Regions from separate parts of the Homo sapiens genome. Here all the other regions are linked to region 3. Evidence: promoter capture Hi-C in 16 types of primary human blood cells and fetal thymus (Javierre and others, 2016). All regions are on one chromosome and are shown on one strand. The core of a region is centred on a gene start or on the middle of the fragment in contact, and the rest is flanking DNA. Distances in the headings are between cores, read along the strand shown.

What was found. The method cuts DNA at HindIII sites, captures the fragments that hold promoters and counts their contacts. A CHiCAGO score of 5 or more calls a contact.
Region 1: a fragment that was not itself captured here is called in contact with the fragment with the promoter of CRABP1 in region 3 in 1 of 17 cell types (erythroblasts); the score reaches 5.4 in erythroblasts.
Region 2: a contact is called between a fragment that was not itself captured here and the fragment with the promoter of CRABP1 in region 3, in 2 of 17 cell types (megakaryocytes and M2 macrophages). The highest score is 6.0, in megakaryocytes.

Annotation. Positions count from the first base shown.
Region 1 is chr15:78,591,425-78,594,880 of GRCh38, reverse strand. It overlaps CHRNA5 (cholinergic receptor nicotinic alpha 5 subunit), which reads right to left. Exons shown (of 6, transcript NM_000745.4): 6 at 1-1,789. The coding sequence ends at 1,628. It also overlaps a transcript of CHRNA3 not described here. Among named protein-coding and RNA genes, the nearest start is that of CHRNA5, 28 kb to the right of the region's middle. The HindIII fragment of the contact is 449 bases long and covers 1,528-1,976 here.
Region 2 is chr15:78,483,203-78,486,402 of GRCh38, reverse strand. IREB2 (iron responsive element binding protein 2) reads right to left here. Exons shown (of 22, transcript NM_004136.4): 11 at 2,969-3,085; 12 at 1,483-1,642; 13 at 563-698. Among named protein-coding and RNA genes, the nearest start is that of HYKK, 23 kb to the left of the region's middle. The HindIII fragment of the contact is 2,229 bases long and covers 570-2,798 here.
Region 3 is chr15:78,338,377-78,341,842 of GRCh38, reverse strand. CRABP1 (cellular retinoic acid binding protein 1) reads right to left here and starts at 1,490. Exons shown (of 4, transcript NM_004378.3): 1 at 1,345-1,490; 2 at 622-800. The coding sequence starts at 1,414. RefSeq lists an enhancer at 1,312-1,940. The HindIII fragment of the contact is 12,559 bases long and covers 1-3,466 here.

The DNA.
Region 1 (3,456 bases), core at 503-3,002, 250 kb before region 3:
TACGCTGTACTAGTAATAGGCTAAGATTGATTACATCTAAAGGCCCTTGCAACTCTAAGATTCTATTATTGTAATTGTTAGAATGAAGGAGAGAAAACTGAAATATTACAGGTATATAACAGTGTGCATATACCAAATTAGAATACTGTGTTTCATATTAGAAGATTGTTTTCTCACAGAATGATTTAGACCAAAATATGTTTGAGACAGAGTTTTGCTCTTGTTGCCAGGCTGGAGTGCAATGGCGCAGTCTCGGCTCACTGCAGCCTCCACCTCCCAGGTTCAAGCGATTCTCCTGCCTCAGCCTCTTGAGTAGCTGGGACTACAGGCGCCTGCTACCATGCCCGACTAATTTTTTGTATTCTTAGTAGAGACGGGGCTTCACCATGTTGGTCAGGCTAGTCTCGAACTCCTAACCTCTGGTGATCCACCTGCCTCAGCCTCCCAAAGTGCTTGGATTACAGATGTGAGCCACTGCCCCCGGCCCTAAATATGTTTTTTAAATGGGGTTCATGTAATTGTAGTGGACTGACTATTCTAAGATCAAGGATAAAGAGATACTACCACAATTTATATAGAAGATGGTTCTATTAATTGTGGGAAATGTGGACAAGAGGACTGAAATTAATGTTAAGGATATGCTACTGCGTGTCCACAGGAGTTGTCTACTGTATGACTTTACAGTGGAAGCTAAGCTACAGAAATAGTTAACACAATAATTAAGCATCTAAAGAATAAAGTAAGCCTTAAAGGAGTTCCCAATTCCTGTTTTTCATTTATTTTTAAAATGTTGGTTATGGAAAAGCAGCAGCACATTAAGTTGTTGTTATTATTATTATTTGAGACTGAGTTTTGCTCTTGTTGCCCAGGCTGGAGTGCAATGGCGTGATCTCAGCTCACCGCAACCTCCGCCACCTGGGTTCAAGCGATTCTCCTGCCGCAGCCTCCCAGGTAGCTGGGATTACAGGTGTGCACCACCACCCTGGCTAATTTCATATTTTTAGTAGAGACGGGGTTTCTCCACGTTGGTCAGGCTGGTCTCGAACTCCCAACCTCAGGTGATACGCCCACCTCGACCTCCCAAAGTGCTGGGATTACAGGTGTGAGCCACCGTGCCCGGCCACATTAAGTAATTATTATATCAAGCATCACATTAAGTAATTATATCAAGTAGTCAGCTTTTTAAATATAGCAGTATAATATTATATTAAAGATTAGCTGTTACTCAGTGAGTACAGGAAAGTTTACATACCTTTACCAAATGCAGAAAAGTTTTAAAATCAGTCTTCAAATACAACTGGAATTCTCCAGCACAGTCAAAGGATGAACTTTACTGTGGATTATAAATTAGTATTATTTGCCAGGATACAAATACTAGATTTTTCACTAGTCCAGTTCAGATAATATTTTGCTATTTTTACAAGATCAAATGTATCTCATCAGTTATTACTTCAGTCATACAGCCAACTGTTCAAATGGATCATCTGTTAACATAAATTGAGGTTAGCAACTTAGTCTGTTAAAGCTTGCACTAAATTTAACACATAACTTACATTTTCATAATTTTATAGGTGCCATCAGATATATGTGTGTTAACTAAATGTATACTTCAGTCCCTTGGGAGGCTTCACTTATTTGCATTTCCAATATGAACTGGTATTAATATATTTGCCCATTTATAAATAACAGGAACAAAAAGCCCAAGAGATCCAACAATTGAAACGAAAAGAAAAGTCCACAGAAACATCCGATCAAGAACCTGGGCTATGAATTTCCAATCTTCAACAACCTGTTAGGAAAAAAATAAAAATGCATTAAATAATTGTAAATTGTGTACATATTTTAAGATATAACAAACACACTGAGTTAGAAGCCAAATCGATTTCTGCCTCCCATTGCTGCCTCTAAACGGTAAGTGACCCTATACTCAGCTCAGGGACAGACACTAGCCTGAAGGTCTACTATAGATATAAGCTTTAAAAGACACTACAAAATATGTTCATTTACACATCAACTTATATTACAAGTGGTTTATTTTGATAGATTAAAAATTAAAATAGACTTGGATATTTTACAATAAACTAAAAAAAATTATTCTTACTATATATACTTATTCTTGCCCAGTAGTGTTTACTTATTTTAATATTTTGAGAGACTCTAGCCTGAGATTAATTTCATGCCAAATTAAAAGTTGGTTCAGAATAATACATGTTAGAAAGCTGTTCATCTTCCTCACATACACACTTTATTTATTTTTGGATTTCCTAGGGACCACTTCAGTCTAATTTCATGAGCACAGAACAGTCTTCCCTGGAGCCAGCTTTAGTAGGGAGCTGGCTCAGCAGCTCGGAGCCACCACAAGGAAAAAGAAGGATGAGCCCAGCCACTAAGCAGCAGGGGCTCCCCTTTCTACAAGGCCATTTCCTTGACCAGGGGCTTCCCTGGCCCTGAACCTCTATGAAGGATGGTGTCCTCTATGGGAACTGTGCCTCCAAAGTGTAGGATAATTTAGAATTTAGGGCATTGTAAACCCTGTTACTTCTCTGCTTATTTTATTTTGAGACAGAGCCTTGCTCCGTCCCCCAGGCTGGAGTGCAGTGGCGTGACCTCGGCTCACTGCAACCTCTGCCTCCCAAGTTTAAGTGATTCTTCTGCCTCAGCCTCCCAGGTGGCTGGGACTACAGGCACACACCACCATGCCCAGCTAATTTTTCTATTTTTAGGAGAGACAGTGTTTCACCATATTGGCCAGGCTGGTCTCAAACTCCTGACCTCGTGATCCACCTGCCTCAGCCTCCCAAAGTGCTGGGATTACAGGCGTGAGCCACCGCACCTGGCCACCTCTGCCTCTGTTTTTATCTGAAAATAAAACCAACCTCCTTGGTCCTAGTAGTATGAGCCATGACCCTTTTGCACAATACTTTGCAGACATTTATTAAATTCCATCTCAGTCTAAACCATTACCTAACAAATCTATGTACTTTTAAAAACTCCAATGATAGCTCCAAACCTTATAAACTAATTTCATTATGCTACCACCAAATAGATACTTCACAAACCCACAAGCATTAGAAGTTTTTATGATGGGTGCACCAAAGTCTCAGAAATCAGCATGAAAGAACTTATGCATGTGACCAAACACATGTTCCCCAAAAACCTATTGAAATACAATAAAATAAGGAAGGAAAGTCTTATTGAAATTAAATCATTAACATATGAAAAAAAGTTTTAAAAATATATACATCAAATGTCCCTTTTGGGATAAAGGCTGTGATTTTGCCAGATTTATTCTGTCTCCTCATACCTGATGGAAATTTTCCATTTAAAATAGCTTTACAGATTATAATTCACATAATTTTAATGTACATTCAATTATGAAAATATTACTATAGTCATAGGTTTAAAATAATACACAATAGAAGAAATAACAGTGACAAGACTGAATTTTATACTTAT
Region 2 (3,200 bases), core at 435-2,934, 140 kb before region 3:
AAACTCCTGGCCTCATGATTTGCCTGCCTCGGCCTCCCCAAGTGCTGGGATTACAGGCGTGAGCCACCGCGCCCAGCCCAAAAAACATAAGTTACTTTCTCCAAAGTTCAGGGACAATTTAAACTTATGTATTATAGACCCAATAACCTCATAAAACTAAAATTAAGACAATTTTCAGTTAATAAATGCAAACTATAAGATTTCTTTCTTTTTTGAACTGACCTACACAACTCACAGAAATTGTGCATACTTGGTATCGTTTCTTACACTGTAACTGTTATTTGGTTGTACTTGTTTGTCTTGTCTTCCCAACTAAGTATCTTGAAGCTAAGACCACATCTCCTACTTCTGTGTATCCAACCTGGTGCTTTGCTCATTTGATATGCCCAATAAGTGTTTCCTGAGTGATAAGGCATCAAAAATTGTATGGTAATGGCAAGGTAGCAAGTAAAACTAAAGCATATTTTTTCTATCTTCTCTTTGTATATGAAAGGCACAAACAAGCAGCTTCAGTACCTACTGAACACCAATATCAATATGAAGTGCGATAGCTGTTACTTACCCAAGCTTACTTAGATATGGTAATACTCCACTTGAACTGAGGTAATGTGTAACCATCCCACTGCCTGGAGATAAACTTGTTCTTATATAAGGTTTAACACGCAGACCAGCTTCAACAGCCTTTTTAGCCAAAAGACCTGCACAGCCAACAAACAATGATTTATTATGGCAATGTTTCTTTCCCTCTCTCACCCATATTAAAGTAAAAAGTGAGAAGTAATTTATTTAACAGATTAAAGTATGAATTCATAAACTTACTGTCATTATTTTGTCCACTTTATTCTACTGATTTGCTTCATTTACAACAAATTTAAAATTACAGCCTTTATGTTGAAAATTATTAAGATACAGGCTGACATCATTCACACAGAGTAAACAAAAGGTGCACATATATAAGTACATGTTAACAAAACCATTTTTTCTCTTTCTTCTTTTTTCTAAAGCAAACCATTTTAAAGTCATAATTACAATAAGAGCAATGTAACACATTATACATGGTTTTATACAACTAAGGAATTGTTCCAATGGGCATACAAATTAATTTCATTTACAATCCTTGCCAAGACAATGATCTTTTACTACTTTTATAACTTTTAATGAAATCTACCACACTGTTATGGTTAACTTCTAGATAATCAAGAAATACCTGCTAATTAACTATAGTTCTAAATTAACAAGAGAAGCAGATACAACCTAAAATTAATTGACAGGTAAGTTATAGTAAACAGTAAATTTACCTTCGGTGTAATAAAAACAACATAAATCAAACTCAGGCTCCTTAAGACCTAACTAAAATACTAGAAAGTCTCTCAATATCAAATGTAGACACTCATGCATCATCTAAGAAACAAAGTTACAATAACAGAAAAGCCAACAATAATTAAGGAAAAAGAAAAAGTATGGCCATAAACCACAACCCACCTGCAGCAAGCATGACAGATGGATTGCAATTATTGGTACAACTGATAACTGCAGCAATGACCACTGATCCATGAGACAGCTTATATTCACTTCCTTCATAATGAATGGAGACAATATCCTTTTGTTTTTCAGCTGCAATTTGGAAGCCTTTAAATCCAACCTATACAAATTTCCACAAAAATATAAACTAAATATTCTGGGTATGTACAGAATAAAAGACTGGCAGAAAACATAGCAGATACCGGACATTTGATGATTTAACATTAAAAATCCTTTTTGTGAGTGATGCTAAAGGCCCATAACATTCAGTAGTTGTAATTCAGCTGAAGCATAAATCTGCATGGGCACGACAGGAGTCTGGTGATGTTCACAAGCAAAACTTTTATCTACTAAGCGAGTCCAGCCTACCACCCAGAATCCAGATCTCATTTGGCTTTGTTGTTCTTAATCATCCCTGTTTATAGTAATTCTCAAGAGATGGCAGAAATTTTTTTCTGTTAAAATGACCCCGAAGATTTCCTCCAAAGGGATCCTATGTGTGTGAGTGTAGCATAGCTGAAACAAGATTGGCTATGAGTTGCTAATTATTGAAGCTAATTGACAGGTACATGGCAATTCAGTGGACTATTTTGTTTTTGTACAAGTTTAACACTTTCTGAACAAAAAGTCAAGAAATCATAAAAAGAAAGGCTCTGAAAGGAAAGCCAAGTACTAGAGATCTCAGAATAGAGAAAGTGACAAGACTAAAACTGTGATTCTCAGACAGAAAATACAAACCCTCAAAAGCCAGAGACCACTTGCTACTCGGTCACATTTACCAAATTTTATGACTGTAGGCCAGGTGCGGTGGCTCATGGCTATAATCCCAGCACTGTTGGGAGGCTGAGGTGGGCAGATCACTTGAGGTCAGGAGTTGAAGACCAGTCTGGCCAACATGGTGAAACCCTGTCTCTACTAAAAATACAAAAATTACCCAGGAATGATGGTAGACTCCTGTAATTCCAACTACTTTGGGGGCTGAGGCAGGAGAATCGCTTGAGCCCGGGAGGGGGGAGGTTGCAGTGAGCCGAGATTGTGCCACTGCACTCCAGCTTGGGCAACAAAGTGAGACTCTGTCTCAAAAAAAAAAAAAAAAGTTTCTGTGATGATGTAACTATTCAATTATCTATGCTGTTCATCAATACAAGACCCATATGTATTCAGCATTTAAAAATGAGACTACTGTGACTAAGAAACTCAATTTTAAATTGTATATAATTTTAATTTAAATAGACACAATCAATCTCTGATCCTCACAATGGAACTGGGAACAAGCTTACCTAATGACTGACTTGCACATTAGACAGAAGGAAAATAAGGGGGCTGCTGGTGTGTGCCATAATATATAAAACATAGCAGTGAATTGAGTTTATGGGTCACCTTGTTGGTTCTTTACTACTTAGCACAAAGCGGGTTGAAAAACACGGATAAGAATAAAGTAACCTACCTTTTCATTTAAGCAAGCCTGGAAATCGCTTTTCATATCTGTCACAGCAACTCTATCCTGAGGTCTTTTTGGACCACTAACAGATGGAACTATTGAATTCAGATTAATCTGGATCACCTAAGAAATGAGAAAGAGAAAGAACAAGGAATTAGAATTAATTCCTTACGACAGATTCCAATTGAAGCATTACTTTCTAAAGCAGAGTAAGTATATTCGTATTTATTTTAATGCA
Region 3 (3,466 bases), core at 241-2,740:
TGGAGAAATAAAAAAAAACTCTTGCCCTTGAGGACTAAGAGAGGGCAACTAGTCCATTTTCCCAGCCAGAACCTGCCTTGCTTTTGGAAAGACTCCGCCGTTCCTTTAAGGAACCAGGCCGAAGGCGGGAAGGGAGAGGTGACGGGGCCATCGGGACTGCTAAAACTGTATCCAGAGCGTACCCAGGCGGCCCAGGGACCCGGGCGGGCGCGGGGGATACGGCGGGAAAGGAATGCAAGAGCTGCGGCTTCACCTGCGACAGAGAACCTGGCGGCTCCTGCAACCTCCTCCTCCTCCTGCGCCGCCTGCGCTTGGCGCTGCAAACCGCTGCAAAAGCCACTGCTGGGAACGCGGCGCAACCCAGAGCCCGCTCTTTAAGCGCGGCTGTTAGCACCCCGGGAGGCAGCGTAGGGATGGGGTTGAGATGGAATGAAGGTAATACTTTGTCTTGAGCCAGGGGCAACTAGGATGCACAAACCCCCTCTGCAAACAGCCAGTGTACACACCCTGCAAGGAAGGCGCGCCACAGGCTGCAAAGGGAGACACAGGTTCCTCCAGCAGCAGTGGGCCATGGGCACCGAGCGGGGACACGGGGACGCTGTAGTGGCTCTGGGGCCTCACCCTGCACTTGCGTCCGTCCACGGTCTCCTCCTCAAAGCCTTCTCCGACCTTGAAGTTGATCTCAGTGGTGCGCACCGTGGTGGATGTCTTGATGTAGAACTGATCCCCGTCCTGGCGGATCTCCACGTGCGGCTTGGACGCAGCCGCTACGGCCACTTTCCTCAGCATGGCGTTCACACCTGCGCAGGGTGCACCACAGGCTTGGGTCACGGGGCCTCGCCGCCAGTCTCGGGACCGGTCGGGCACTGGTCATACCCTAACTTTAGAAAGGGGCCTTAAAATTGATCCACTCGTTTCCCTGCCCTCGCCCTTGTTTTCGAGATGAGAGACTGAGGCACAGAGAGGGTAAGTGACTTTCCTCGAGTTGCACAGTGAATTCGTGGCAGAGCCTGGTCCCAAATTTGAGTCTCCAAATTTAAGTCCCTGATCCTCCTTGCTCTCCAGTAATCTCTCCTCGCTATGATCTAGCACGAGATAAAGTCCGCACCATCGAGGAGGGCGCCAAACATTCAGCAAACGTTCGCTGAACGCGTGGGTTCCGGGATCTCTACCAGCTTCTCCGAGACCCGGTGCGCCTGGGAGACAAGGCGATCTATTGCCCCGGGGACTCCCTCCTGCCTGGGCTCCCCAACTTCCACCCCCTCCAGGACCGGGGCACTTCCGGGACCAGGGCACCTCCGGGCCGCATCTCCCCGTCGGGGCGCGCCCTCTGCACCAGCTTACCCAGTGCCTTGAGCAGCTCGTCGAAATTCTCGCTGCTGCGCATCTTCCAGGTGCCGGCGAAGTTGGGCATGGTGGCGGTGGCGGCGGCGGCAGGTACGGACAGCGGCGGCGCAGCGGGCACACTCTGAGCTCGCAAGGCGGAGACTGGCGCTTTGCGCCCAGCGCTGCGCGCCTTGAGTCACTAGGAGAGCGCCCCCAACCCCGCCGGGCTTCTGGCCCCGCCCCGCCGGCCCTGCCCCCGCTCCCCCGCAGCCCCTACTCGGTATGCGCTCAACTCCCAGCCCAGTTGTGCCTCAGCCTCCAGAGGTGCGGGCACCCGCTCTCCAACTGGGGAGCCTCCACCTCCCTCAGGACACCCACATCCCGCTTTAAAATGGGTGGTGGGAGAGGGTTAGCTGAAACAAGATGGGCTTGGAGGGGATAACTGTTGAAGCTGGGCGGTGTGGACTTGGGTTATGATTCTACTTTTCTCTCTACTTTTGAATATGTTTGAAAATATCCATAACATAAACTTAAAGTGGATAGCGAGCGGGGCCATCAGGGGATGGGACCCACTCTTTTTTCACCTCCGGTCGTACCTACTGGGTGTGCCCAGATGGTGTCCCTTCCCTCCCAGTCCGGGATCCTATTCTGAAACCCTCTCCCCGCATCCCCACGCCCCCCACAGGACCCATGGGGAGTGAGTGGCAGGAAACCGCAACCCCCATCAACACCAGCTTGGGCACTGAGGCGCGAATCCACGAGCTGCGGGTCCTCCGCGTTCCGAGTGCAGGAGGGGGCCAGACCTTTGTCAGGGCTCAGGACAAACTGTGGGTCGAGAGGCATGGACTGAATCAGCTCCAGAATCTGGGCTAGGTGCGGCCTGTTTTGCAAAAGCGTGAGGCTTTGCACTCTTCGGGCAGGCTGTGAGGGCCAAGGGGAGGAAGTCTTCTCCCTTTGCTCCCAAATAACCTAAACATCACGACCTAAAGTCCCCTCGGTGTTTCCACTAAGGGAGTACAAACACTTCACTATTACCCTTGTAGCTCTTCTCTGTACATTTTCCTTCCAGCTTTTTCCCACTATTTTACCATCTGCACACCTCAGCCAAACTGTACAATTCAGGATTCTAGAACGTGCCATGCATTTTATTATCTCTAAGTTTTTGCCCATGCCATGGCTTCTTCCTTGAATGCCCCTTTCCTCATCGGGTTAATCAAATCTTGCCCATTCACGAAAGCCCATCTTTATGCTCTCTCTTTTGTGAAATTCAGTTTCCTAATAAACTGTGATTATTTTTCTCTGAATTGACAGGATTCTTGTCCGGTCCTGCTCTTGTTCAAGTCTTCGCTCTGCTATAAACTGAACTCCTGGAGGGCAGTGATCGTTTATCCACTTGTCCTCCCTTCCTAAGGCTTAGCCAGGTGGGGCTCGATAACTGTGCATTGATTTGAGGAGGATGTGAGTGGTGGCCTGGGGTGAAGATTCCCCCAGGACCTTGGGGAATCTGTGCTGAGTGCCTACTGAACAGGGCCCTGGAAACTTCTGGAGGTGGCTGGGGCTGGGTTGCTGCCAGGAGGCTCCGAGGATCTGTCTAAGAAAGCAGCTGAGGACAGGAGAGGGGAGTGGGGCCATCACCAGCTGGAAAGGGGCATGGGCAGGGCCGGCATTCTGGACGTGCCGTCTGTGCAGTCACACAGGGCCATGCACTTAGAAGGGCCTGATAGTTAGATTGGAAAATGGAAAAGCAGGAATGCTCTGCTATTGCCAGCTTGAACGTCAGAATACTTTTTGTTTGTTTGTTTGTTTTGAGACAGAGTCTCGCTCTGTTGCCCGAGCTGGAGTGCAGTGGCGCAATCTTGGCTCACTGCAACCTCTGCCTCCTGGGTTTAAATGATTCTCCTGGCTCAGCCTCCCAAGTAGCTGGGACTACAGGTGTGTGCTACTATGCCCAGCTAATTTTTTGTATTTTTAGTAGAGACAGGGTTTCACTGTGTTAGCCAGGATAGTCTCGATCTCCTGACCTCGTGATCCGCCCTCCTCGGCCTCCCAAAGTGCTGGGATTACAGGCATGAGCCACCGTGCCTGGCCCCATAATACTTTTTGAACAAGGAGTCCTGAATTTTTATTTTGCACTGGGATC